Linked DNA regions of Homo sapiens: regions 1, 2, 3 and 5 are each linked to region 4. Evidence: promoter capture Hi-C in 16 types of primary human blood cells and fetal thymus (Javierre and others, 2016). All regions are on one chromosome and are shown on one strand. Each heading gives the region's core, a stretch centred on a gene start or on the middle of the fragment in contact. The rest is flanking DNA. Distances are from core to core; before and after follow the strand shown.

Region 1 (5,199 bases), core at 2,644-5,143, 190 kb before region 4:
CTGGGTTCCAGGAGGATCACGGGAAGGGGGCTTTCAGCCTGGCTGTCAGAGAAGAATGTGACAGGCCCATTTTCACTCCACAGGCCTTAATTGGATGGTCAGAGGGCACATCTGTGGCTTATAAGAAACAGATGGCGGGATGGGTTAGTGAAGGAGAAAGCACGCTTGCTTCAGGTTGAGTGCCCGTGGAGGTGCTGGGGCAGCACGCTGGCAAGCAGGCAGACTCGGCCAAGACCCAGCTTTGTCACGTGCGTGAGGCCTTGGCTGTCCTCTTCATCTTTCTGCGTGTCTGTTTCTTCAGCTGTAAAATGGAGATGATGAGGCCCAACAACATAACATAGGAGGATTTGGTGAGAAAATGCATTTGAAATGGCTGAAGACAGTGCCGTGTGTTATAAGTGCTTGGTAGTTGTTATTGTCCTGTGGTAGCCTTGGGTCTCTAGAGCCAAGAACAGCCTCCTGTCTGGATCTGAGTGGCTTCATCCCACTGTGTGGGACTCTGGTCCCAAGTGTTGTATGTGAGTAGCTGGGACCACAGGTGTGCGCCACCACACCCAGCTCATTTTTGTATTTTTTGTAGAGAAAGGGTTTCATCTTGTTGCCCAGGCTAGTCTCAAACCCCTGGGCTTAAGTGACCCTCCCACCTCAGCCTTCCAGAGAGCTGGGATTACAGGCGTGAGCCACTGTGCCTGGCCGGGAATCCCATTTCAACCTGAGATTGGGCGGGGACAAACATCCAAACCATATCAGTACCTGTGGGAAGTGACTTGGAGGCCTCTCGGGTCTTCAGCTAGTCCTCTGGGCAGTAGGGAGAATCCTAAGTAATAGCCGCTTCACAGGGAGTCAGTGAGGATGAAGTGTGTGGAGCGCAGAGCCACTGTTTGTTGAAAGTGCATTGTTACTGTTATTGCCTTTGTTTTGGTAGTTAGGCTTGTTTCCAGGGAACTTTGGCTTCCTTGGCTTCTGGGGTGTGCACACAAGCACTGGACCAAGGATGAGGCTCAAGGAGGGCCCTGGGCTCATGCCCTGGGCTGACAGTGGAGGCCATGGGGCTGGTGGGGAGGAGCACAGGCCTGAGGCCACCCCACCTGGCTCAAGATCCCCACTCGCTACCTCTGTGACCTGGACAAATTCCTCCACCTCATCTGTAAAGTGGGGCTAGGAACTGTTTCCCCCTTACTGTGGGATTATTATGAGGATTCAGTGATGCGATCCATGTTGTTTTAACAGTGCTTTGCTATATGGTAAGGCTTCGGATAGTACCTCACTGGTAGGTAATTTCCTGTTAAGGACAGCCAAAGTGGAATTCAGATGGGGATGGTGAGAGCCGAGACATTATTTTGTTTGTTTGTTTGTTTGTTTTGAGACGGAGTTTTGCTCTTGTTGCCCAGGCTGGAGTGCAGTGTCGCTATCTCTGCTCACTGCAACCTCCGCCTCCCAGGTTCAAGCGATTCTCCTGCCTCAGCCTCCCAAGTGGCTGGGAATACAGGCGCCTGCCACCATGCCTGGCTAATTTTTATATTTTTAGTAGAGATGGTGTTTCACCATGTTGTCCAGGCTGGTCTCAAACTCCTGACCCCAGGTGATTGAGAGCCGAGACATTTATGCCCAGTTCCTGCCTTTCCAGAGCCTGGTGTCATCTTTTAAGTCAGCGCTACCCCATCTCCTTCAATTCAGTTCATGTCACCTCAGCTCGACAGAGGCAGTTCTGTGTCTGGGCACCAGGAATCCTCAGGGGGAGGCCCTCCAGCACCACCTGAGATGTTTGCCGTGTCAGAGAACCAACCTTGTGATCACTTACTTAGTAATTTTCTTTGAATGTACTCACAATTTATCCCTGTCAGGGCAAGATGGAGTAAGTTAAGCTAGTCCAAACCTAAACCCGTGAAATCAGGAGATCCATAAACTAAATATGTATTTTCTCACAACATCTGAAGCTAAATAGAGGTTGAGATAAAATTAGAAACCATTCACGTAGGTGCCATCTAAAACCATCTTAGGTCCCTGTCCCCACCCCCATCCCCCACCTGCTGCCCCCTATAGTCTGCACACAAGGTGGACTTGTTAAGGCTCCCCTGGGACCCCTGCCTGCCCACAGAGCCTCACCTGGACCCGGTCCCAAGAGCCAGGCCCACTCTCACGTCCAGGAGGAAGCCCTGCCTCCCCAGGTGTTAGGCTGGACTTTTCGTCCTACAGCACAGGGAGAGTGAAGCAGTTAACAAACCACATTTAATATGCAGTATTGTAATTTTAAATTTGTGGAACAAACCTAAACTACTACTTGTTTTTTTATGCTACCTATAGATATTAAATGTGGACAGATTTTGCTTGGCAGACCATTGGTTTAGAAGGCTGGGTTAAGCCCTGTGTTTGAGTAAAAGTAGTATTCAAGTAAAAGTGGGATTCAACCCCAGGTTCTTTTTGGCCTCAGGCAAGGAAGTTCTATATCTGCCTCACCAACACTTCTTCCAGGAGGGTGGAGAATCAGATATGAATTATTTCTCACAATCACCAGGAATGGCTGCAGCTCTGCTGGACAGATTCTGCATCTGTTCCCAAGCTCATCGGTCAGCTTTTACATGGGTACACCGAGGCCCAGAGAGGAGGACGGGGCTTGCCCAGGTCGCTGGCCAGGTCACTGTGCTGCTTCCACACAAGGTGGCTGGGAGGGGAGGCCTACCCAGTTTGAGGCAGGAAGTGTCTGAGAAGCTGGTCAGAGCTCCCCCGCTGTGCAGCCGCCCTGGGCTCCTCCACCTGGGAGCTCTTGGGACAAGTCTGAGAGCCTTTGAAGCCTCTGCAGCCTGAGAGTTTCAGAGCTCTTGCTACCTTCAGATCCTCTTTCCATACAGAACACCCTGTTAGAGCTTTCTCTCAGCTGGGGGCTCTCTGTCTCGAAAGGGGCCTCTGTGCTGACAGCCCCAGTCCCTCAGTGCGGATCACACATGTGGCCTTGCCCTGTGCCAGGTGCTTGACTGGGCCCTTGCTGAATCAGATGAAAGAAATCCTCTGGAATCCTCCTGCACTTCTGCAGCAGCTAACAACTTTGTTTCATGCTTTTGAGGCCAGAGGCTCTGAGAGGTCACATGACCAGCCCAAGCATCCACAGCTAGGACTCCACAGAACCAGCTCATCCTTGCCAGGTGGGAGGCAGTCTGTCCCACACCAGGGTATCTGAAATGTTTCTGCTTCAGGTGCTGTGGCTGATGCTTCCGGGCCATTATCTGTGTACCATCTTCAGCTGGGTGTGGGTGAAAGCCTCGTTGGGGATGGGCCCAGAAAGACCTTGGTGTATTTCTCACACCCAAAGAAGGCCGCCAAGGAAGGCCCATGGCGACCCCTGGGTAGGAAGCTTGGTGCTCTCAGGGAGTGGGATTTGTGCCATCTGGTGCACAGCCTCGGGCAGGAAGTGCACCAGGCCCCCAGCCACGCGCGGAGAGCTTCTCCAGAGAGGGCTGTGATGTGCGGCTAGAGGCAGTGCTTGGCACCCCTGCTCCTTTCACAGGACCCAGAAGTTTGCCAGATCAAAACCTTAGCATTGGCTGGAAAATTGGCTTACTTATTGCCATCTGTACCCATCACTTACCCATGGAGTGGGCGCCGTCCTGGGCTGAGTCGGGTGGGGGTCCTGCCGTTGAGTTAGTAATTTCGGGTTTTCCTTTTGTTGTTTAAAGGCATACTTGTTAGGCTACCAAGTAATATAGAAACATATTCACATTGTAAAAGGCTCAAACAGTGCAGTTTGTAGAGTAAAAAGTGAAAGTGCCCTGCCATTTCCCCAGCCACCCACAGTACCCCCTTTCCCCCCAGGCCACCTGCTTCTCCAGCAGGAACTCCCAGCCTCCGTTCAGGGGAGGGGGAGGGTGTCCTTCTGGACCAAGCTCTTCGCACCTGCACACATACGTATTCCTCTGGGTGGATAGCCTCGGGCTGTCTTGTTCACCACGGTCACTCCAGCCCAGCCACAGGCCTGGCACTTAGTAGACACCCACTAAATTTTTACTAAATGAATGACAGTAGCAGTAGTTTTTACATGAATGGGACCATGGACATCTTGTTCTGCACTTGGTTTTGGCACTTTAAAGTGGGGTTTTCCTGCGTCGGGACATCAGGGTATGAGGGTGGGCTTATCTGCCGTCATTGCATTAAATGGAAGCACCCGAGGGACCATCCCTTGTGCATCACCCTTGTTGATATGCATTGGCTGTGTCCAATTGTCCATGTTACAGAACGCTGAGGGGTCAGCCTTTTAGCAACTCAGTTCACAAACACAGCACTTTGTCAGGAGGCAGTCCTAGCTGTGAAATTGCTCAAATTGCCCTCCATAAAAGAAGCTGCCCATCAAACCTCCTGCCAACAGCGCAGGGAAATGCCTGTTCCTCCCCTCTGTCCCACACTGGCCCCTGTTGGTCTTTGTCATCTGTGCCAGCATGACGAGCAGAAGCTTACCCATCTGCTGAGCATGTCCACCTGGTCGCCTGGTCACCTGGTCAGAAGTGGCTATGGGAATTCTTCCCATATATCCCAGGTGGCCAGGGAAGGGCCCGACTCAGGAAATGGCATCTGTAAGAATGATAGGGCAGCCTACTGAGGGGTGCTGGGCATGACTCGCAGCATGGGCTGGCCCACCCAGCCACCGCCAGGCACCGGTCCAAACCAGTCAACCCTGTGCTCTGCTCCGTTTTTTCCATCCCTGCCTTTGCTCATCAATGAGGTGCCAGAAAAGGCTTCCAGCGGTTGGAATTCCTGCCTCCTTCATGTGTGTTTGGAGGCCACACAGCTGTGTTCTCTCAAACCTCCACCATCCTTTACACTCAGAATATCTGTTTAGACATTCCTAACTCTGCTTGGTCGTTGTTTATTTTAAAATAGTCCCAGAAATACGCTTGCTTATTTAGTTCTCCACCAAACACTCCATTGCGTAGAATCATGCGTCCCCTGCATTCTGGTTCCCTGGAAGAACCGCAGAAGGGGGACCTGCCTCATACGACCAGGCTGCGTCAGTCATGGGAGTGAGCTGTCAGACATTCACTTTTTTAAAAAATAGAAACAGGGACTCGCTATGTTGCCCAGTCTGGTCTCGAACTCTGGACCTCAAGTGTGGTCAGAATTTCACTTTGAAATTCTTGGGTTGAAGAAGAGCTTAAGAATGGGCTGTTACTTTCCTGTGTTTGTGGATTCATGGAATGATTCTTAGGGGCC
Region 2 (5,001 bases), core at 1,640-4,139, 240 kb before region 4:
CATCCATCTTATGCGCTGGAGAGACCACTCACCTGTGTTCCCGCCTGGGCATCCTACCTCTTTTTCTTGGGAATTTCTTCTTGGAAGAGTAGAACTGTATATTCAAGGAAATTGAATTCCTTCTCCCATTTTCTGCTAATGCTATGCATGTATTGATTCATTCATTCTTCCAACAAATATTTTGGAAGCCCCTGTTAGATGCCAGGCACTGGGATCAGTATTGGGGATGCAGTGGTGAAGCAAACAAATGCTTTCATGGAATCTGGATTCTCTTAGAGGAGACAGACAGTAAACTAGTAACCAAGTAAAATAATCCCATGTAGCGAGAAGTGCAACAGTGAAAATAAAACTAGGTAATGCGGTGGGGCAGGCTGAGGGTAGAGGGTACTACATCCGCCTGAGCAATCAGGAGAGGCCTCTTGGAGGCTTAAGTGATCAGGAGGAATAGCTTGCAGTTTCTGATGAATTTCCTCATGTAATTAGTTATTCAGCAAATGCATGTGGAGCACCGGCCGTGTGCCAGGCAGTGTGCTCAACATGGGGACTACAAACTCCAGGCAGACCAACCCAGGCCCTTGCCCAAGAAAGCATCAGTCATTCTTGGACAGAAAAGTCCTACGAGGAGGCTGTCAGCACAATAGAGGGTCACTTGCCTGGTGGTGAGCATGGACTCTGCCCGCAGGAGTGAGGACCCGTTTCCTGAGGACACCCGGGCTATGGTAGAGGACAGAGCAAGAAGGGGCATGAGAGCCTGTGGCATATCCATCAGATCACTGCCCGTTCCCTAGGGTGAGTGGCAGCATGTCCGAGGCAGCGGGTGCCCCAAGAGGCAGGCATCTGGAGCCAGTCTGCAGGGGGTGGCACAGGCAGCGACTGAACTGTGTTCCTATGAGCCGTGTGGGGCTGCTGGGGGGCAGTTGGTCAGTTAGTGAGCTGACCCACTCTGCACCTCTCAGAATGGGTTTGCAGTAATTCAGCCAGCGGGTGGGAGGGATGAGAGGTGAAACTGAGAGGCTTTCTTATCATTCAGCAGATACTTGCTGAGCGCTTGCCAGGGCAAGGCCCCGTCATAGGCACTCAAACAAGCCCAGATGAGTCTCACTGAAGTGAACAAGAAGATTAATTGTGACTGTGACAAATGGTAGAAGGAAATGAACAGGGTGGAGTGATGAGGAAGCCTAGTGGTTGTGCTGCAGGGGTTACTAGGTGCTAGTCAGGGTGGTCGGGGAGGGCTCCTCTGAGGAAGGACCAGCAGAGCCACAGCCCAGAGAGTGAGAAGGAGCCAGCTCTGCAAAGACCTGGGGCAAGAGTCCTCCAGGTGAAGGGAGCAGCATGTACAGAGGCCCCGGGGTGGGAAGGAGCAGAAAGTGGGCCAAGGTGAGGCTGGCCAGGCGGGCAGGGGCCAGGTCATGAAGGGCCTTGAAGGCCCTGAAGAGGAATTGCCATTTTTTCTCCAAGTGCAATGGGAAACCCCTACCGAATTTTTAAGTAGGACAGTGATGTGGTCAGATGGAAGTTTTTAAAAGAAACGTTGGCTACCAGACAGAAAGTAGATGACTGGGGGTGGGGATGAGTTGCAGGAGGGAACACCGAGAGACTTGCTAAGAAGCTGTTGCAGTCATCCAGGCGAGATAATGTGGATTGGATTAGGCTGCTGGCTGGGGAGTAGAGGAAACTGGAAGGACTTGTGATTATTTCAGCGCTAGAGCCAGGACGTGCTGATGGATTGAATGTAGGGGTCGAGTGAAAGGGACGAGTCAGATGACTCCTGTGATTTGGCTTGAGCAATGGTGGGGGTGCATTTACTAGGATGAGGAGACAAGGAGAGTCACTAGGCTAGGGGTGAGGGGTTCTGGTTGATTTGAAAGGAGGGGGCATGAAGGGAGGAGCCTGGGTAAGGCTCAGGTTCCTGACTCCTTTCCCTGTGTGACCAATAGTGCCATTTCCAGAACTAACAAGCATGGGCCTTGGAGTAGGTTTGGAGAAGAAACGGAAAAGTTCAAGTCCGGTGCCCTGAGGCCCAGGTGCCTGGGGAAGCTGCCTCGTGGGGGAGCTGCCACCTGGTTTATGCTCAGTCCTGGCCTGTGAGCACAGAGTCTGCATTTGGTGGGGCTTTGCTGGTGGAGGTTGGTTGAGTGATTGGTTTTTGGTTATGCAGCAGCTGATCAGGCTGCACTTGACCTTCAGCCTCACTTTTCCAGATCCTTACCCCCCAAATCAGGTCCCAAGTGACCTGGTCTCTTTCTCATAGATTTTTTCCTCATAGTCAATTTTAACATAAAAGCCACGTTCATAAAAACCAAATGTGAGCTCAGGCCTTCCAGTAATCATAATAGATTAGATGCTGCACCGAAATGAATATCCCACAGTGGAAAGGGTTGACCGGTTGGCGGAAGGCGCTTGTTGTGATTCAGTTGGGCCACATAATGAATTCTGGTTTGTTTCTGTAATAGAAAATGCAGCCTTCGCTCTTCTATCAAGTCCGCTGAGTCCTGGGCCAGAGGTGGAGGGATGGGGGTGAGTTTTACAGCTTTTGTATCTTGAAGGTTCCCCAGTTCAGTGACCAACCTTCTACTCCTGCCACTCCATTTGTCATTGTTTACCCAGGAAGAAGGAGTCTTGGGCTCTTTGTGTTTTGTGTTTTGTTTTGCTGAGAAGTTAATGGAACATGGATGAGCGATATGGAAAAGGTTGAAAGGTAATAGGCTAAAGGGAAGCTTTTGCCATGCGGAGAACTTGCACAACGTCAGTTTGGATCTTGGCTGACACATAACCAGAATTAGAAGTACATTGGAAATCGGCCCAACATCTGGTTAGCTTTCGAAATCTTTGGTCTATAGTCTTCCAAAGCTGGTAATACTTGTGTGACTGCAGCCAAGGAGACTTTGTGTGGTCAACAGACGTTTTTAAAAAGTTTGAACTGTTTACCTGGTGTTCTCGTGGTGTCTTTATCCAGATCTGTCTAATTATTCTTATGCATCTTTGGTCTGGGTCTTTTACCTCTCTACCCTAAATGGGGGCTACTACTAAGGGGGAAGAATCCAGATATCAGAACTGAGAGGGAAGCTTAGTAAGAGTTACTGACACTGTGGGGCCACACCCTTCCCTTCTGTTTTGGATTCTTTGAATGAGTTAGTTGAGAGTTCCGCCCTCCACCCCTGTCCACGGGTGGACAGGGGACACCCGTTCTGAGTCGGTGGGCAGCTCAGGCTCTGACCCCTAAGGCAGGGCTGTGGGCGGGGCAGGGAACATGTGGTCTGCTGGAAGCCAGAATGAGCTAGTGCTCCCGTGAAGTGCAGCAGGGTTTCTTTGGAATTTGTCTGTCACAAAGCACTTAAGAGTTGAAGCAAATAGGATAATATATTATCCACAGTGTTTATTTCTGTCAGAGGGAAATGACTGGCAAAGAAGCTATTGGGTTTGCAGCAAAACCTGCCTTTCTGTGACCAAAAACCACGGGGTATGCATGCGTGTGTGAATGAGTGTCTGTGTGTGTATGAGTGTGTGTGTGTGTTTGTGTGTATGTCCTTGCACACAGGAGCCGTCTTACCTTTCACATGCATGCCCCTGTTACAGGGTGACATTGACCTTAGCCACTCAGAACCATCAGCCACCAGGTTGTTTCAGGCAGGAGGCTTAAACCTAAATCTAATGTTCGCCACAAATTAAATGCCATCCTAAGTACAGTGATGGTCATGCAATGATTGTTATAGAAAACAAAAATGAGAATAAGTTGCTTTTTCACTTGCCTTTGATAGTACCACCTTAAAATAACCAACTGCTGACAGTGTCGTATTTCTTTCTAGCATGTTTTCTGTGTGGGTGATGGTTGGGCTTTTTTGCACAGCTGTCATATGGTGGCTTCTATTTTACGTATGTTTCCCCTTCATTTTGAGATTTGTCTAATCTTCTGCCCGAAATTTGATCAAAACTACTTAACTTTTTAAAAAATTAATTCAGCAAAAATGTATGGACTGTTGTGTTTGTGCCAAGAACACCACTAGATCACATGACATACATAGCTTGGGAAGGTGGAGGGAAAGAGCGTTAACCAGCGGGGATCATGGTACACGGCAGAGAGGAGGGAGGTAAGAGCCACATGGCTGCATTCAGGGCTGGGCTTTCCACTCTCCACATGACCCCAGGCAAGCTCATGTCTTTTTTGAGCCTCAGCTTCCTCGTCTATAAAATGGAAATACTATTAGCCACTTCATGGAATGTCATGAGGATGAAATGAAGCATTCTACGTCATATGCCTGGCTGATGGTCACCATTTCTTCAGAGCTTACCATGCGAAGGCAATCTTGTCATCTTAGCAGAATCCTCTCCTCCTTCCTTCCAAAGACACTCTGTCCTTCCCCAGAGAGACTGGTGATTTTGTTGTTGTTTGTTTGTTTTGACTGAGTATTTTGGTAAATGATAAGGCCTCCTTCAAAACACTGGATAGTTGGAGTCAAAGAGAGGATTTTAAAGGCCATGGTGGGAAAAAGAGCTGGGAGAGAGAATGGGGCCCCTGGCCCAGAAGGAGCTTTGGGGAAAGAAGGGAGATGTTCAGAGGGGTTTCTGTTATATAGTTTTGCCGTGTGCTGTGTGGAATCACCTCTGCTCTCTGCCTCCCAGGGCTGGTGGTAAAATCTACCTCACATGGACTGCATGGCACTAGCAGGTCAGTTTGGGGTAAAGGGCCGGAAGCATGGAGACCACTTGGAACAGTCAGGGGAATGGAACCACCCCAGTCAGCCAGGGCACAACCAGATTATGTTACGGCCCGCTAGCTGCCTCTCCTGGGCCCCTCCACTGCATCACCCTCCAGGATCCTGGCACGAAGCCTTGCCTGTCCCTTCCCCCATCCTCCACCTCATCACCCCCTCCCCGGCTCTCTCCCACCCAGACCTCTCTGGGTCTGCTCCACTCCCTGCAGTCCCACCTTGGTTTGGCAAGTCCTGGCCCTCCCTGTCCAGTTCAAGGCAAACTCCTGTTCATCCTTTAGGATCCAACCTG
Region 3 (5,638 bases), core at 2,289-4,788, 210 kb before region 4:
CCATAAAAGAAAAGACATTGTTAATATTGAGTAGGTAGCACATCATTTCAGAACGAGGGTAGTCTTTCCAAGAAACAGTAGTGGCAACTGTATACACACATACTGTGCTTTAATGGGGAGTGGGTTTGTTGTTGTTGTGGGGGTTTTTTTTTTGGTTTTTTTTTTGTTTGTTTTTGTTTTTTTTTTTTTTTTTTTTTAAAAAAAGCAAGTGCAGACCAATTACTCTAGCAAAAGCCAGTGACTCTGTCTTTCCAAGCTTATGGGGAAGGCAAACTCCAATCACAGCAGCACAGATCAAACTCAGATGACCACCGTGTTTCCTGTTCTAAGAGCAGGTGACGGGGTTTAACCTGGCTGGAGGTCAGGGAGGCTTCTGAAGGAGGGGCCCATTTGAGGGCTGCAGGGGGGGTGTGGGTGCCGAGAAGTGGCGCAGAAGAAGCAAAGGCCCTGGGGCCGATGGGGATTTGGGGAAGATGAGAGACGGCAGTGTGGCCACAGAGTCGGGGAGTGGGAGGGTGAAGGTGGTTGGCAAGATGAGGCTGGGTAGGAAGCCATGCAGGCCCTGTGGGCATATCAAGTGTTCAGGGTTCTATCTTAAAAACAGTGAGAAAAGTTTTTACCTAGCTGATGTGATCAGATTTGTATCTCAAAAGGCCCTCTCTGGCCTCAGTGGAAGAGATTTATGGGTCAGGGCAGCATTACAGCAGGGAGCCCCATGGGGAGGCCAGGCCTACAAGGCATGAACTAAGAGGTGGTGTCCACAAGCTGGCATCCACACCAGGCTCGGACAGTCTGGTTTGCCCCAGAGACTTGTCTTGAATGCTGCTCTGTCCACTCTGTGGCCTAGGTACAGGGGCTTTTATTGCACAGAGGTCCATCCAGTTGGATCCGGCGTGTTCTCCAAACCGTCGTACCTTTGAAGCTAATTATTAACAACAACCCAACTATTTGGGTTGTATTCACCTCCTGGCAAGGCAGGCTGCTGTGGACCTTCCCTTTGCTCTCCTTCTGGCTGTTTCCAGGCCAGGACTTGCCTGTTTAAAAGTCAGGCTGCGGTTATGGAGGAAGCCTTGGATCCTAGACAAATGCAGACCGAATCTCAGCCATGCTTCTTCCTAGCCATGTGACTTTGGACAAATCTATTCCCCTCTCTGTGCTTTAGTTCCCTCATTGATCAAATGAGAACAGCGATGCCCAACTTTGCAGGGTTATTGTAAGGCAGAACAATAAGGTGGATATAGAGGTTGCAAACAGCTGGTCCTCAGGCAGGTGGGCCCACAAATGTAGCTTCATGGCTAGTAAAGCATTTGCAAGCGAATTTTATGTTGCTAATGTTTTAAAATCAGGATATTTTATCGTAAAAACCTAGCTATCACCTTGAATATGAGACAGTGACAGTCTGTCCACGCAGAGCCTGCATCCCCACAGGCAGCAGTCAGTTGCTCCTCTTCATGGGAGTGAACCCTTCTCCCAGCTGCTAGAGTCTCTGCTGAACTCCAGACCTGTGTACTCAGCTACCTGCCCAACATTTCTTGGTTACCACAAACACAAGATGTGAGCTTTCCCACAAAACCTGTCTCCCTGCAGGCTTCCAGACAGTTGATGGCAGTTCCATGCTGGTGGCAAAAACCACAGGCTCATCCCTGACTCCCCTCTTTCTCTCAAGCTCAACTTCCAGTTGGTCAGCAGACCTATTCAGCCTCTGCCGCAAAATACAGTCAGCCCTATGTGTCCTCAGGTTCTGCATCTGAAGATTCAACCAACCACAGATTGAAAACATTTCTATTTTTATTTAATTTTTAAAATTTATTTATTTTTTGAGACAGAGTCTCGCTCTTTCATCTAGGCTGGAGTGCAGAGGCACAATCTCGGCTCGCTGCAAGCTCCACCTCCCAGATTCAAGCAATTCTCATGTGTCAGCCTCCCGAGTAGCTGGGATTACAGGTGCATGCCATCACGCCTGGCTAATTTTCTTTTTTTTTTTTTTTTTTGTATTTTTAGTAGACATGGGGTTACACCATGTTGGCCATGCTGGTCTCAAACTCCTGGCCTCAAATAGTCCGCCTGCCTTGGTATCCCAAAGTGCTGGGATTACAGGCATGAGCCATTGTGCCTGGCCATTTATTTATTTTGAGACAGGGTTTCACTCTGTTGCCCAGGATGAAGTACAGTGGTATAATCACGGCTCAGTGCAGCCCCAACTTCCCAGGCTAGGGTGATTCTCCCACCTCAGCTTCCCAAATAACTGGGACTACAGGCATGCACCACCACACCCGGCTGAGATTTTGTATATTTTGTAGAGACAGGGTTTCACTATGTTGCCCAGGCTGGTCTCAAACTCCTCTGCTCAAGCAATCCACCCACCTTGGCCTCCCAAAGTATTGGGATTATAGGCATGAGTCACTGTGTCTGGCCTATTATTATTACTATTTTTTTTTTTATACAAGGTCTCGCTCTGTCGTCCAAGCTGGAATACAATGGTGCAATCATAGCTCATTGCCGCCTCCAACTCCCAGGCTCAAGCAATCCTACTGCTGCCTCAGCCTCCTGAGTAACTGAGATCACAGTTTCGTGCCACCATGTCCAGCTGATTTTTTTTTTAATCTTTTGTAGAGACAGGGTCTCACTATGTTGCCCAGGCTGGTCTCAAGTTCCTGAGCTTAAGCGATCCTCCCGCCTCAGCTTCCCAAAGTGCCAGGATTATAGGCATGAGCCACCATACCCAGACTGAAAATATTTTTAAAAAACAACAACAAAAAAATACAACCATGCAAAATGAGCAGATTTTAAAAACAGTACAGCATAACAACTATTTACATAGCCATCTCATTGTATGAGTTATTATAAGTAATCTAGAGATGGTTTAAAGTGTGTGGTAGGATGTGCATAGGTTATATGCAAATACGACACCATTTTATATGAAGGACTTGAGCATCTGTGGATTCTGGTGTCCTCTGAGGGGTTCTGGAACCAGTCCCCATGGATATGGAGGGACGACTGTATTGTCAGGATGTTACCTTCTCTCCCAGCTTCTCCCAGCACCTTGTTTGAACTGCCACCATTTTTTTTTTTTTTGAGACGGAGTCTCACCCTATTGCCCAGGCTGGAGTGCAGTGGCGCAATCTCCACTCACTGCAAGCTCCGCCTCCCGGGTTCACACCATTCTCCTGCCTCAGCCTCCCGAGTAGCTGGGACTACAGGCGCGTGCCACCACGCCCAGCTAATTTTTTTGTATTTTTAGTAGAGACAGGGTTTCACTGTGTAGCCAGGATGGTCACGATCTCCTGACCTCGTGATCCGCCCGCCTCGGCCTCCCAAAGTGTTGAGATTACAGGCGTGAGCCACTGCACCCGGCCTTTTTTTTTTTTTTTAAGCTAGAGATGGGATCTCACTATGTTGCCCAGGCTGGTCTCAAACTCCTGTGCTCAAGCATTCCTCTTATCTTGGCCTCCCAAGGTGCTGGGATTACATTCATGAGCCATTGCACCCAGCTGTGCCATTATCTTTTACCTGAATTATTGCAGTAGTCTCTTGCCCAGTCACTTGCTTCTGTTTTGTCCCCTAGAGTTTATTCTCAGCAGCATGAACTGTCTTCCTTTTAAACGAGAAGCCAGATCATGTTCTTCATTTGTTCAAAGTGGGCTCCCATGCCAGTCTGAATAAAAAACAGAGACCTTTACCCCTGAGGCTTATTATGTGACACCACCTCCCTGTCTCTGCCTCCTTGCTCTTCTTCAAACACACCTGGCATGTACCCACCTCAGAGTCTTTGCTCTGACTGTGCCTTCTTACCAACCCCAACCTGCAAACCATTTGTTCCCTAGCACAAGTACACTGGAGGGCACCACGAGGCCCATGAAAGCTCACACACGAAAACCGTACCCCAAATTCTTGCTCCATGTTTGAAATCCTGACCACATCGCCCTGTTTGTTTATTCTTCATTTGCGGATTAATGTGAATATCATAAAGATTCTGCAGGATCCAACTTCCTAGCATTCTGCGTGCTTCGCCCCAGCTTCTTTGCAGACAAGAGCTTTTAGGCAGAGTGGAAGTCCCTGGCTATTTTCATCGGATTGCCTGGAGATTCGTTTCCAGCAAAAGTATTATGAAGCTCCCCAAGCAAGTATGTGGTTTGACTGTCAGTCTGTGAAAATGTGAGCTCATTGATTTCTTTCTCTTGTAAAACCAGTACTAGTTTTGTGGTCCTGTCAGTTCTGGAAAATTCTCTGTGTTGGCTTATTTTGCTGATGACCCAGGCATTGTCATGTGCCTCTCATCCTAGTGAAAATGAGTGGCATAAATGAGAAAGACAATGAAAAACAAATCCAGAATACGGAACATTCTAGAAGACAGCCGACCTGAGTTTTTCAAGAATGTAAATGTTGTGGAAGACCAAAAAAGAGGGGGACGAAGGTAGAGGGGTACTGTTTCTAGATAATTGAAACAAAGTGACATGACAGTTGTCAGCCTGGATTGATCTTAGATTGAGGGGGAAAAGTAGCCTTAAAGGACATTTTTCTGCAAACTGAAGACATTTGCATATGGATTGTGATTGAGTAATATAATTGAGGTCAATATTACGTTTCTTTTTTTTTTTTTTTTTTAAGAGATGGGATCTTGCTGTGTTACCCAGGCTGGAGTGCAGTATTGCAACCTGAAACTCCTGGGCTGAAGTGATCATCCCACCTTAGCCTCTTGACTAGCTGGGACTACAGATGTGCACCACCACACCTGGCTGATTTTTTTTTTTTTTTTTTTTTTTTTTAAGATGAGGTTTCGCTGTGTTGCCCAGGCTGGTCTTGAACCCCTGGGCTCAAGCAGTCCTACTTCAGCCTCCTAAGTAGCTGGGACTACAGGCAGAACCCCTGGCCTGGCTAATATTATCTTTCTTGAGTGTGATAATGCCATTGTGGTTCTGTGGGAGTATGTTCTTGTTCTTAGGAAGTATGGGCTGAAGTGTGTAGGGGTAAAGTGTCTGATGCCTATAATGTTGGACTGATTCAGAAGATAAAACTGTGTGTGTGTGCGGGTATAATGAGAGAGCAGACAAATGCAGCCCACTGTCAACAAGTGATGAATCAAGGTGAAGGGTACATGTTTGTCTGTTACACTGTTGTTTCTTTTTGAGACGGGATCTCGTTCTGTCCCCCAGGCTAGAGTGCAGTGGCACAGTCTTGGCTCACTGCAGCCTCGAACTCCTGGCCTCAAGCGATCCTCCCACCTCAGCCTGTAGTATCTGGGACTACTGGCACGTGCCACCATGCCTGCCTATTTTTTTATTTTTTGTGGAGATGGGGTCTCTCTATGTTGCCCAGGCTGGTCTCCAACTCCTGGCCTCAAGTGATCCTCCTGCTTCGGCTTCCCAATGTACTGGGATTACAGGTGTGAGCTACCACAGCTGGCCTATTCTATTCTTTAAACTTTTATGAGAATTTGAAAATCTTCAAAATAAAAAGGAAGGGACGAGAGAGAGAGAGATAATCCAGTCCTTGAAAATCCAACATTTAATAGATGGGGAGTATAATGTTTAGGAACTGGAGCCCCAGATTTAGAAAAGCCTGGGTTTTAACTCCTGCTGTGTGACCTTGGACAAATTAGTTAACCTCTCTGAGCCTTTCTTCCTCATCTGTAAAGTGG
Region 4 (5,232 bases), core at 372-2,871:
CTCTCCGAAGTGCCCCCTTCCTGATCCTGGAATCTATGATGTAAGGATTGTGAGATGGGGAGGTTATCTTGGGTTGTCCAGAAAGTCCCTCAGTGCAATCACAAGGGTCCTTGATTTCAGACAGGAGGGAGGAGTGATGCAGCCACAGGCCGAGGAGAGCAGGCAACAAGGATCGGATTCTGCCTGGGTCTCCAGAGGCTTCAGCCAGCACAGGCCTCACACAGCGCAGCCCATTACTCTGCATTCATCTACTCCTTGCCTTTTGCCGTCTCTGTGCTGACCAAGTTGTTGCTGGAGCATGCCAGACCTGTTTCCCACCTCGAAGCTGTGGCCTGCACTGAGCAGTGCCCCCACCTCTGCCCCCACCGTTTACACTTCCAACCACCCAACACTCAAGATGGGTTGTGTTTTTAAACTGTGGCACACAGTAGGCATTTAAATATGGCCACAAGGTGCCTTGGCATCTTTGTGACTTAATTAGGACTCGATCTGTTCTAACCATTTTCTCCTTTCATGAGGTAGGATCAGGTTCTTCACTGGAGGGGGATCCAGACAGACTAATGTGGCCTTTGACACCATGGAAGGATGCACAATAGACAGGACAGCATCATAGGGTGGCCTCCCAGGCACAGTAACCCTCTCCTAGGTGTCCTGAGAGCATCAGAACTCCCGCCCTACCTGCCTCTGAGGAAGGGCTGCAGAGAAGCCTCTACCCGCCCTGGGCGTGAGGGAAGCCAGGTTTGTGTGATTCGTGCAAAGAAAACCCGACAGGCCAGCGAGTGTCTTGTCAAGCTTTATTGGGCAGGTGACTTTTGCTCGTTTCACTCAGATCTTGTGGGCTTCTCGGCGGCAACTCAGGGCTTGAGCATTTGATGTAGGGGAGTTGCTATGGCCTCACTCGGTGTTTCTTGGGCAGGTGACTTTCTCTTAACTTCCAGCTGGGGGCTTGAGCATTTGATGTAGGGGAATTGCTATGGCCTCACTTGGTGTTTCGGGCGACTTTTTCTTAATTTCCAGCTGGGGGTGAGGGGCCCAGGAAGCTTAGTGCCTTCTGCATGTTCTCTTCCTGGTTCTGCAGCCTTTTGGGAAAGAAAGTTCTGGTTGAGGGGGTCACCTAGGGACTCTGGGTGGGGACGGGGGTTAGGGGGCTGGAGCTTTTGTCAGGTGGGGTGGGTCCCCGCCTCCCTCCTGTGCCTGGGGTGGTCAGGGACATGCAGGGCAAGGCGGGGGCGCAGGCAGACCTCTGCGATGCCTCCTCCGGTGCCTGCAGGAGCGTCTTTTGCGCCTTCTGCAGGAGCGATGCTGCCGCCTGTGGATCCGGTGCAGCCTCCTTCGAGAGCAGTGTCTGCGCCTATAGTGAGACTGGCCATGGGTCCTCTCGTAGACCTCGACGTGCTCCGGGCTCAGCCCTTGCTCCTCTTGGCCGTGGTGTCCTTGCTCTTGCCCATGCAACTGCTGCCTGTACACCTCGTGCGAGCGTTCGCTCAGGCTCCTCACGCGGTATCGGACCATGGTGTTGGGAGATCTGGTGGCTCCTGGGCTGAGGCTGCAGTGGGCCCTGGAGTAGGGGAGGAGGGCGGAGGCCTGCCCACCTGCCCTTGGTGTTACTGTTGGTCTGGTCTGCAAGGCTCCCCGGGAGCTTGTATATAAAGGGGGCGCCCACTATGACTCTGCGGCCCCGCCCAGTCCCCACCCTGCCCAGCCTCCTCTGTGAGGGCAGCACAGGGCCAGGGGTCACAACTAGCAGGGCCCTGGCACCCAAGCTGCAGGGCTGGAAGGGCGAGAGACCCCCTTGCCTTGCCTGTAAAGCATGTCCTCTGTCTCTTGCAGTAGGTGAACCATACAGATGGCAGGTGTTTTATTGCCTAATCCAAGCCCTCATCTCCCCAAGCCGGTGGGTGCGCACATTGTCATTTGGAAGCTTCCTTGCCAACTCACTGCTGTGCCACAGCCACCATGTGGAAGGGACTTCCGTGCTTGGATCTCTGTGCACACAGCTTACTGTTAAGATGGCAACAGCAGCAAACAGTTCCCTAATAGCTCCTATGTGCCAAGCATTGATTCATTTATTTCCCATACATTCACTCATTCTCTCTCTCTCTCTCTCTCTCTCTCTCTCTCCTCTTTTTGTTTTGAGGCACTGTCTGTCGCCCAGGCTGGAGTGCAGTTGTGCAATCATGGATCATAGCAGCCTCTACCCCTCCAGCTCAGATGATCCTGCCACCTCAGCCTCCCGAGTAGCTGGGACTATAGGCGTGTGCTGCCACTCCCAGCTAATTTTTTGTATTTTTTGTGGAGATAGATAGGGTTTCACCATGTTGCCCTGGCTGGTCTCACACTCCTGGCCTCAGTGAGCCTCCCATGTCGGCCTCCCAGAGTGCTGGGATTACAGGTGTGAGCCACCACCCTTGCATTCCTCACTCTTACAATCCTCATTTTCTGTGGGGCAAACAGGCATGAAGAAGTTGAGTTGCTCAAGGCCACTCTGCTGAGAAGGCCAGGCCGGGCCAGCATTCAGACGGAGACAGCCTGGTTTTAGTCATACCCTTGGCTCTCCACCTCCTCCCTAGCCCAGGGAATGCTCCCCTCTCCGCCTCCAAAATATTCATCTTCTCCCCTCCCGCTCGGCCTTGCCGGGGCTTCTCATTGAACTTTGATGATCCCATTAAAGTCCGGGATCAGAATCACAGAAACTGCAAAACCAGTTTCCCTTTCATGGAGGGCAGGGAGAATGTGGGAATGTGGCAGATACACAAATTTAAGGACTTGAAGATGCAGAGATCATCCCAGATGATCTGGGTTGGCCCAGTGCAGTCACGAGGGTCCTTAGAAGAGAGAATAGGGAGGCAGGAGGGTCACAGGAAGAGAAACTGGGAGACACCACACTGCTGGCTTTGAAGATGGAGGGAGAGGCTATAAGCCAAGGGATGCAGGCGGCCTCTAGAAGCTGGGATGGACAAGGAAATGGGTTATCCTCCCCTCGTGCATCCAGGAGGAACACAGCCCTGCTGACCCCTTGATTTTAGCCCCATGAGACTTCTTTCAGAATTCTGACCTGCAGACCTGTAAGATAATGCATTTATGTTGTTTAAAGCTACAAAATTTGTGATGATCTGTCACAGTGGCAATAAGAAACAAATTCAGGAGGCTTAATCTTCAGATCCTTACAGGAGGTGATGGGTGATATTGCCATGCCCTTGGTGTTTCTATGCTGCCTCTCTTTAGGGATAAGAAGGTCCTTTATGATGGCCCTCAAGCTCTTCGAGGGCGCGTGTTAAAAATATGAATGCTGAGGCCTTACCCTACGTCCCGCTAAGTCAAATCTCCATGGCCAAAGCTTGCAGATGAAAATAAGAAGGGGCGGGGCAGGGCTCGGTGGCTCACACCTGTAATCGTAGCACTTTGGGAGGCTGAGGCGGGTGGATCACCTGAGGTCAGAAGTTCAAGACCAGCCTAGTCAACATGGTGAAACCCTGTCTCTACTAAATATACAAAAATTAGCCGGGAGTGGTGGCGGGCGCCTGTAATCCCAGCTACTCAGGAGGCTGAGGCAGGAGAATTGCTTGAACCCAGGAGGCAGAGGTTGCAGTGAGCTGAGATGGCACCATTGCGCTCCAGCCTCGGCAACAAGGGCGAAACTTCGTCTAAAAAAATAAAATAAAATAAAATAAACATAGGAAGGGGCTGGGTGTGGTGGCTCACACCTGTAATCCCAGCACTTTGAGAGGCCGAGGTGGGAAGATCACTTGAGCCCAGGAGTTTGAGACCACCCTGGGCAACATAGTGAGGGCTCTGTCTACAAAAAATAAAAAAAATAGCCTGGGTCCATGGTGGCATGTGCCTGTAGTTCCTGCTACTCAGGAGGCTGAGATGGGAGGATTGCTTGAGCACAGATCAAGGCTGCAGTGAGCCACGTTCACACCACTGCACTCCAGCCTGGGTGACAGAGCAAGACCCTTATCTCAAAAAAAAAAAAAAAAAAGGCACACCCAGGGGTCTGCCTGTCCAGCCAAGCTGCTATCATGATCCGAGTGTGTTATGGGGAGTCATTGCTAAAGTGATCAGGGTCATGGTAGTGCCAGGGCTAGCACTGAACTCTCATGTGCTCACTTGAAAGAACATGGTTGTTGATACCCACCGTAGGTGAGTGCAGTGGCTCATGCCTGTAATCACAGCACTCTGGGAGGCCAAGGCAGGAGAATCGCTTGAGCCCAGGAGTTTGAGACCAGCCTGGGCAACATAGTGAGACCTCGTCTCTACAAAAAAATTAGAAAAATTAGCCAGGCAAGGTGGTGCATGTCTGTGGTCCCAGCTACTCAGGAGTCCAGGAGGCTGAGGTAAGGAAATCACTTGAGCTCAGGAGATTGAGGCTGCAGTGAACTGTGTTTGCGCTACTGCACTCTATTCTAGCCTGGGTGACAGAAAGAGACCTTGTCTCAAAAAAAAAAAAAAAAGGAAGTGATGTATGCAGAATACCAGGCACACAGTTGGTGTCCCATAAACAGAAGTCATACTGTGACATTTCTGAGGTGCTTGGTGGGCCCTGTCACTTCAGGGAACTGGGTCTCAGAGCCTCTGGTCTCTGCCAAAATGCTCTGGGTTTGCTCTACCATCAGGAAATGACTGTGACCCAGGGCCTGTGTCAAGGAATCGGAGAGGTGGGCTTTCTTAGGCTGTGGGTGAGCCAAGGAGACCAGTGCCCAGCAGGACTTCTTATGTCCTTCCCCAGATCTCACTGGGGTCTTAAACTCTTGCCTTAGAAATTTTAGTATAGGTGGTATATCAAGCAGCTTGAGTGTGGACTTAGATCCGACCAGATGGACAAGTTAACCTTTGTTTCTTCGGTGGACATAACGTTGTGAAACCGTGCCCCAAAGAGTAAAGAAACCGGTGGTTAACAAAAATGTTTGAGTTTACAGGATGGCAGATAAGAGACTTCCTTAATGGTGCTTGATTAAATGTGAAAAGTTCAGCTCCACTGCTACCTGGACAAGTTATCTCTGTACCCAAATGGGGATGAAAACTTCTGGCACAGAGTGAGGAATAAGCAGTTTTGAATTTAATTTTCCTGATGGTGACTGGCTTAATCTATTTAAGTTATAACCTAAGAGTTCCTTTGTTGAAGAGTGGAAATTTCAGCTTTGGGCTGAAATAAACCCGGGTGGGCAGCTAGGGGACAGGTCAGATGGGATGAGCTGGTTCAATCTTGAGCTCCAGCTGGTAAATGTTTAA
Region 5 (5,498 bases), core at 2,129-4,628, 230 kb before region 4:
CACCACTGTTAAAATTTCAGACTATATTCTCTCCCTCTAACATGGGAGGTGTCCGATGAATCAGGATGATTCTCTGCTATGAATAGTAATTTTGGGGACAGTATCATTTTATTGAGGACTTACTCTGTGCTGGATGTATATAGCATGCTGTACAGATTATATCTCTTCATCCTCACACCAACCAACGGTAATAGCTACTGCCATTGTCCCTTTCTTGCTGAATTAGTCTCTTCTCATACTGCTACGCAGAAATACCCAAGACTGGGTAATTTATAAAGAAAAGAGGTTTAATTGACTCACAGTTCCACATTGCCGGAGAGGCCTCAGGAAACTTACGATCATGGTGGAAGGCACCTCTTCACAGGGTGACAGGAGAGAGAATTAGTGCAAGGAGAAAAGATGCCAGATGCTTAGAAAACCATCAGATTTCATGAGAACTTACTCACTATCATGAGAACAGTATAAGGGAAACTGCTCCCATGATTCAGTTACCGGCACATGGTTCTGCCCTTGACACGTGGGGATTCTCATGTGTCTCACCATTCAAGGTGCGATTTGGGTGAGGACACAGAGCCAAACCATATCACTTGCTAATGAGGAAACTGAGTCAGAGAGGTCTAGTGATGTACCCAAGTCTGCCCGGCCGGTGAGTGGCAGAGCCACGCTTCTAGAGGAGGACAGCCCAGCCCCGCATCCCCCGTGCTTCTCCATGTATTATGTCCCTGCCTCCCTGTTTGCTGCTCCACTGGAATGTTTCAGCATGCAGCTCTCCCTCCAGTCTGTAGTGCCAGCACATGGGCTTCCTTCCTCCTCCCGCAGGCAGAATCGCGGGAAGCCATAGGTTCAGAAGATCCCAGCTTTCTCTGCTTTGCGCGTTTGTCTCTGTTATCCCAGCACCTGCCCTTGGCTAGGTACTCCATAAGTACGTGATAAGTGATCCTTCTTGTGGATATTACCCACCAAAGCATGTGTGATTTGGGAAGTTTATAATAAACCTAAGTGTTTTAAGTGTCAAAAAGAAAAAGGCAGCGTGCACTAATTGGCTCCTTGGCTTCGCAGCCCATTCCCTAGGAATCGGGACAGCTGGGCCCTCACCACGTCCTTTGTCACTGCATGTCTGAGGCTGCCGTGGAGCCTTTTCAGGGGAAAGGTGTAAATTGGCATAAGTCATCTCCAGAAACACCCCAGCAGCACCCTGTGCCAGGCCCCCGTGGGCTGCTCATCTACAGCCCCTCATCATTCCTCCAGCCCCTTCGAGAGAGGCTCAGTCTTCCACCCTTCAGACCATTCATTAGAGTGGAAGGGATTCAGTTGTCATTTGTTATTTCCTCTTACCCCCGAGACATCCCCCTGCAATGTCATTTCCTACAGTTTGGTTTCCTGTTTGGAAATGTCAGGCTTCTATGGCACTTGACCATGTGGGAAAGCTTGAGCTCTTAAACCCCTGCTCAGTGTCTGCTTTTGACAATGCAACCTTGAGTGCATTGCTGAAATTCTGAGCCTTGATTTTTTTCTTTTTTTTTTTCGAACAGAGTTTTGCTCTGTCGCCCAGGCTGGAGTGCAAGTAGTGCGTTCTCGGCTCACTGCAACCTCTGCCTCTTGGGTTCAAGCAATTCTCCTGCCTCAGCCTCCCGAGTAGCTGGGATTACAGGCGCCCACTACTACGCCCAGCTAATTTTTGTATTTTTAGTAGAGACGGGGTTTCACCATGCTGGCCAGGCTGGTCTCAAACCCCTGACCTCGTGATCCGCCCGCCTTGGCCTCCCAAAGTGGTGGAATTACAGGCGTGAGCCACCGCACCTGGCAATTTTTTTTTTTAAATCCGTAAGGTGGGGGATCCCTACCTCATAGCCACCCAGGCTGTATATGAAATAGCCAACAAGAGGCCTCATGGGTCCATACACAACAACAAATACTCATGGGTCTATACACAACAAATACTTCCTCCCCCTCCCACCATGGGGAGCTTCCCAGGTTTTTTTGTTTGTTTGTTTGTTTGTTTGTTTTAATCAAACATGTATTGTGTGTCCTATACAATGCCTGGCATTCCAGAGAAATACAAAGGTGCCACGCCCTTGCTCTGTATCTGAAAATCAGTCCTCAGCCTTCAGGAATGCAGCTTCTGAGTGGAAGGGGGTGGGGACAGGCCCTCCAAGGCCAGCTGCTGTACCAAAGTCAGACCATGACTTGTGACCTTTCCTTCATTTCCCTTATTGCCTCTGGTTTAATGCAAAAGGTTCAGTGAGGTGATGGCCTAGCTCTGCCCCCAGCAGGCCTGAGGGGTTCACTGGGAAGGTTGTAGGGGGCAGCAGGAGTAGAGGGGAAGGGAGCTGCAAGTGAATGAGTGAGGCAGGAACTGCCACCCCTGCGGGGTTAGAGGATTTGGAGTGGGGGACCTCAGGCTTCTGGAGGAAAGTACTTAAAGTGTCCAAAAGAAGAAGGCAAGCAGCATGCACCAAGTGGCTCCTTGGCCCTCTGGCCCATTCACCGGGTGTCTCAGTATGTTTTCTGCAGCTATAACAGAATACCACAGACTTAATTTATAAAAAAAAGAAATTTCTTACAGTTCTAGAGGCTGGGAAGTCCAATATCAGGTGCCAGCATTTGGCGACGGCCTTCTTGCCACATCATCCCATGGTAGAATGCGAAAGGGCAAGACAGAGCAAGAGGGAACAGAACTCACTCTTATAACAAAGTCACTCTCACCATCATTGAGCCACACCTGCAATAACAACATTACTCCATTCATGAGACCCAATCCCGTCTTGTTAGGCCCTACCTCTCAGCACTGTCACACTGGGGATTAAGTTTCCAACACATGAACTATGGGGGACACGTTCAAACCATAGCACCAGGTATCTGGGCCACTGAGCCCTCGCTACATCCCTGCCCTATGTAGTCAGCTTTACCTAGCAGGAGGGGGAAAGTGGTATGTTTGAAGCCCACTTTCTGAAAAGAGAAGACACAAGGAAAGCTTGTGATGTTTGAAAGAGTAAAATGAATTCTGCAGAAAGCTTACCCTTCGTCTGTGAAGCCAGGGAAATGAAATGTTAGTGTTCAACAACACGTGTGCATTGATTACTACTACTGATGCAGCAGAGATCTGGGAGAGGTGGCAGGGAGGGGATGTCACCCTGTGTCTTAGTCCTCAAAGAAGGCTTCGCAGAGGTGGTGTGGAAAGAGGCCGTCAGCTCTGGCCCAGTGGCCGTGGGCATGCGCCTTTCCTCCTCTGAGCTCAGTGTCCCTTTTATGATGGGCCCACCAGCACCTGCCGTCCAGCAGGAGGTGATCCCAGCACGTGCCTGGCACTTAGTAGATGCTCCAATAATGATTGTGTTATATTATCCCAGGTAAGATGTGAAGGGGACAAGGAAGGAAGGGGAAACATTGGTCCTAGGGTGGGAATCACAGAGGCCCTGGAGCAAGACAGGCCTGGGCTCATGTCTTGGCTCTGCCACCCACCAGCTGAGCGACCTTGGATCCATTTTTCTGCTTCTCTGAGACTGTGTTCCCTCATCAGCAAAGTGGGAAGCAGCTCCTCAAAAGCCCTTAGGTCACAGCTTGCAGCGGAATCAGCTCTCGTTAAACGGAAGCTGCCATCGCCATAGCTGTTATCATCACTGGAAGGACAGAGAGGAGGAAGCAGGTGGCAGACGGGCTTGCACCCACAGGGATAAAGCATACCTGGCCTCCTGCTGAGAATCCCTGTCCCTGCTGAGGTGGAGAGAGAATGCGAAGAGGAGCAAGCTTTTCACAGCAAGGATGCAACTTCTCAAGAGTCTGAGCTGCTGCTTCAATTAAAGGAAAAATCTGCAATTTAGAAAACCAAAAGGCATATTGCTCCCTTATCTGGCTGCCTCTGTGCTTTACTTCAATCTAAATCCAGGATTTAGATCACTCATTTACATTTACTAAATGCGGTTGAAGGCGAGGGGCCTGTGCAACCTCCCCCGGCCCCTTCCTCCTTCCAAGTAAGGAATCTGCTTTGAGGTTTCCTGTAATGTCTCTTCTAGATGAAGCCCATGAACGTGGAATATCTCATGATGGACGCCTCCATCCTGCTGCCCCCAACAGGCACGCCACTGACGGGCATTGACTTCGTGAAGCGGCTGCCGTGTGGCGATGTGGAGAAGACCCGGCGGGTGAGTGAGCACAGGACCTGTCATCTCCTGGGCCACTGTTCTCCAGAACCACTCCCAGACCAGGGAGGAAAGGGCTTCTTTGTCAAAGTCAAGAGCCTGCCCTCAACACAGCTTAGACAGTGGATAGAGAGTACCCATTTGCCCCCAGGCATGACTTTCCAAGGCATGTTTTTACCCTTTGGGAAGTAGGGTTTGGCATTCCGTTGCATCTGGCACCCAGTGTTGGCTGCAGAGAGGTAGCCTTCACCAGTGCAGACAGACAAGCCCTGAGCTCAGGAGTGTAAGGCAATGGGGCCAGTTTTCTGTGAACCATCGGGGGTGAGCACGGTACATCCAGTGCAGGTGAGGTTGGTGTGAAATCGTAGCCCAGCGGTCTCAGGACCCCCAGAGATAGTGCGATGTTAAGGCATCTACCTGCTCTTGGGACACAGTCAAATTAAATGTGAATCTCACCAGCCTGCAGGACAGATATGTGTGAAAAGATTAGTTCTCAGAACCAGCTGCAGTGTGTGCTTCCGTTATCAGCCCTTTTTTTCCGAAGCAGGTACTCTAGGAAGCAGTGTCCTCAGGGGTGTTCATGGTATTTTATCTCCCGGGTAAGATCAGAGTTTCTTTCTTAGAAAGCACCATCACCTTTTCCTAGAAAATCATTCACTGGAGACATGAGTATTTGTGTATAGTTCAGAGGAATTCATTGCACACAGCTCCCCTTGTCAGCCTTTATCATCTGAGTTAATTCGTGTGTGACAGAGGTGTTTCACTTTTGGATTTTGCAAAACAGGAATGACCTGTCATTTGCACCTCAGACACGAGGAGTCTGAACCTTCCTCCCTGCAGCTGGTGGTTCTACCTCGGAAGCCTGGGGGTGCAGAGGAAGTGGGACCCATGTGTCTTGAGTCAATCCACATTTCCAACTGTCTGACCAAACCCACAAGCCTCACCGCAGGACCCACCCTGTCCGGCCCACTGACGCCTTCCTTCCATGTCCTCCCTGCCAGGCACACGATTCTGTTTGTGGGTGGCAGTGTTTGCACTGGACGTCCTGGCATCAGCTTTCACTGGAGGACTGGTTCTGACAGATGTGTATGTGTTGCTTCATGATGCTGACGTGCTCACCCCCAGCCAGGGCTACAGCATCCTGTGCCAAGAAGGCCCCACCTGGGAGATCCCCCCGCACCCCTGAGCCAGAAGGTCCAGAGGACTGAACGCTGAGCACTGCTGCTCTGGATTCCACTTTGCCTTTTTGTTGTTGTTGTTGTTGTTGTTGTTTTGGAGGCTGCAGTGAGCTGTGATCCATCCTGGAGTGCAGTGTTGCGATCATAGCTCACTGCAGCCTCAAACTCCTGGGCTCCAGCC

The links. The method cuts DNA at HindIII sites, captures the fragments that hold promoters and counts their contacts. A CHiCAGO score of 5 or more calls a contact.
Region 1: a contact is called between a fragment that was not itself captured here and the fragment with the promoter of PRM2 in region 4, in 2 of 17 cell types (total CD8 T cells and activated CD4 T cells). The highest score is 5.7, in total CD8 T cells.
Region 2: a fragment that was not itself captured here is called in contact with the fragment with the promoter of PRM2 in region 4 in 5 of 17 cell types (activated CD4 T cells, total CD4 T cells, naive CD8 T cells and 2 more); the score reaches 13.3 in activated CD4 T cells.
Region 3: a fragment that was not itself captured here is called in contact with the fragment with the promoter of PRM2 in region 4 in 1 of 17 cell types (activated CD4 T cells); the score reaches 9.0 in activated CD4 T cells.
Region 5: a fragment that was not itself captured here is called in contact with the fragment with the promoter of PRM2 in region 4 in 9 of 17 cell types (activated CD4 T cells, erythroblasts, naive CD4 T cells and 6 more); the score reaches 13.9 in activated CD4 T cells.

What each region holds. Positions count from the first base shown.
Region 1 is chr16:11,085,197-11,090,395 of GRCh38, forward strand. The region is part of intron 19 of CLEC16A (C-type lectin domain containing 16A); the gene reads left to right. Among named protein-coding and RNA genes, the nearest start is that of CLEC16A, 140 kb to the left of the region's middle. The HindIII fragment of the contact is 1,092 bases long and covers 3,348-4,439 here.
Region 2 is chr16:11,031,427-11,036,427 of GRCh38, forward strand. All of the region lies in intron 13 of CLEC16A (C-type lectin domain containing 16A), which reads left to right. Among named protein-coding and RNA genes, the nearest start is that of CLEC16A, 89 kb to the left of the region's middle. The HindIII fragment of the contact is 349 bases long and covers 2,716-3,064 here.
Region 3 is chr16:11,067,014-11,072,651 of GRCh38, forward strand. The region is part of intron 19 of CLEC16A (C-type lectin domain containing 16A); the gene reads left to right. Among named protein-coding and RNA genes, the nearest start is that of CLEC16A, 130 kb to the left of the region's middle. The HindIII fragment of the contact is 6,568 bases long and covers 255-5,638 here.
Region 4 is chr16:11,274,859-11,280,090 of GRCh38, forward strand. It overlaps PRM2 (protamine 2), which reads right to left and starts at 1,622. Exons shown (of 2, transcript NM_002762.4): 1 at 1,242-1,622; 2 at 781-1,079. The coding sequence starts at 1,512. The coding sequence ends at 1,042. All of the region lies in intron 1 of LOC105371082 (a long non-coding RNA gene), which reads left to right. The HindIII fragment of the contact is 881 bases long and covers 1,039-1,919 here.
Region 5 is chr16:11,047,500-11,052,997 of GRCh38, forward strand. It overlaps CLEC16A (C-type lectin domain containing 16A), which reads left to right. Exons shown (of 24, transcript NM_015226.3): 18 at 4,014-4,142. Among named protein-coding and RNA genes, the nearest start is that of CLEC16A, 110 kb to the left of the region's middle. RefSeq lists enhancers at 2,833-3,409, 3,410-3,987, 5,000-5,149. The HindIII fragment of the contact is 733 bases long and covers 3,013-3,745 here.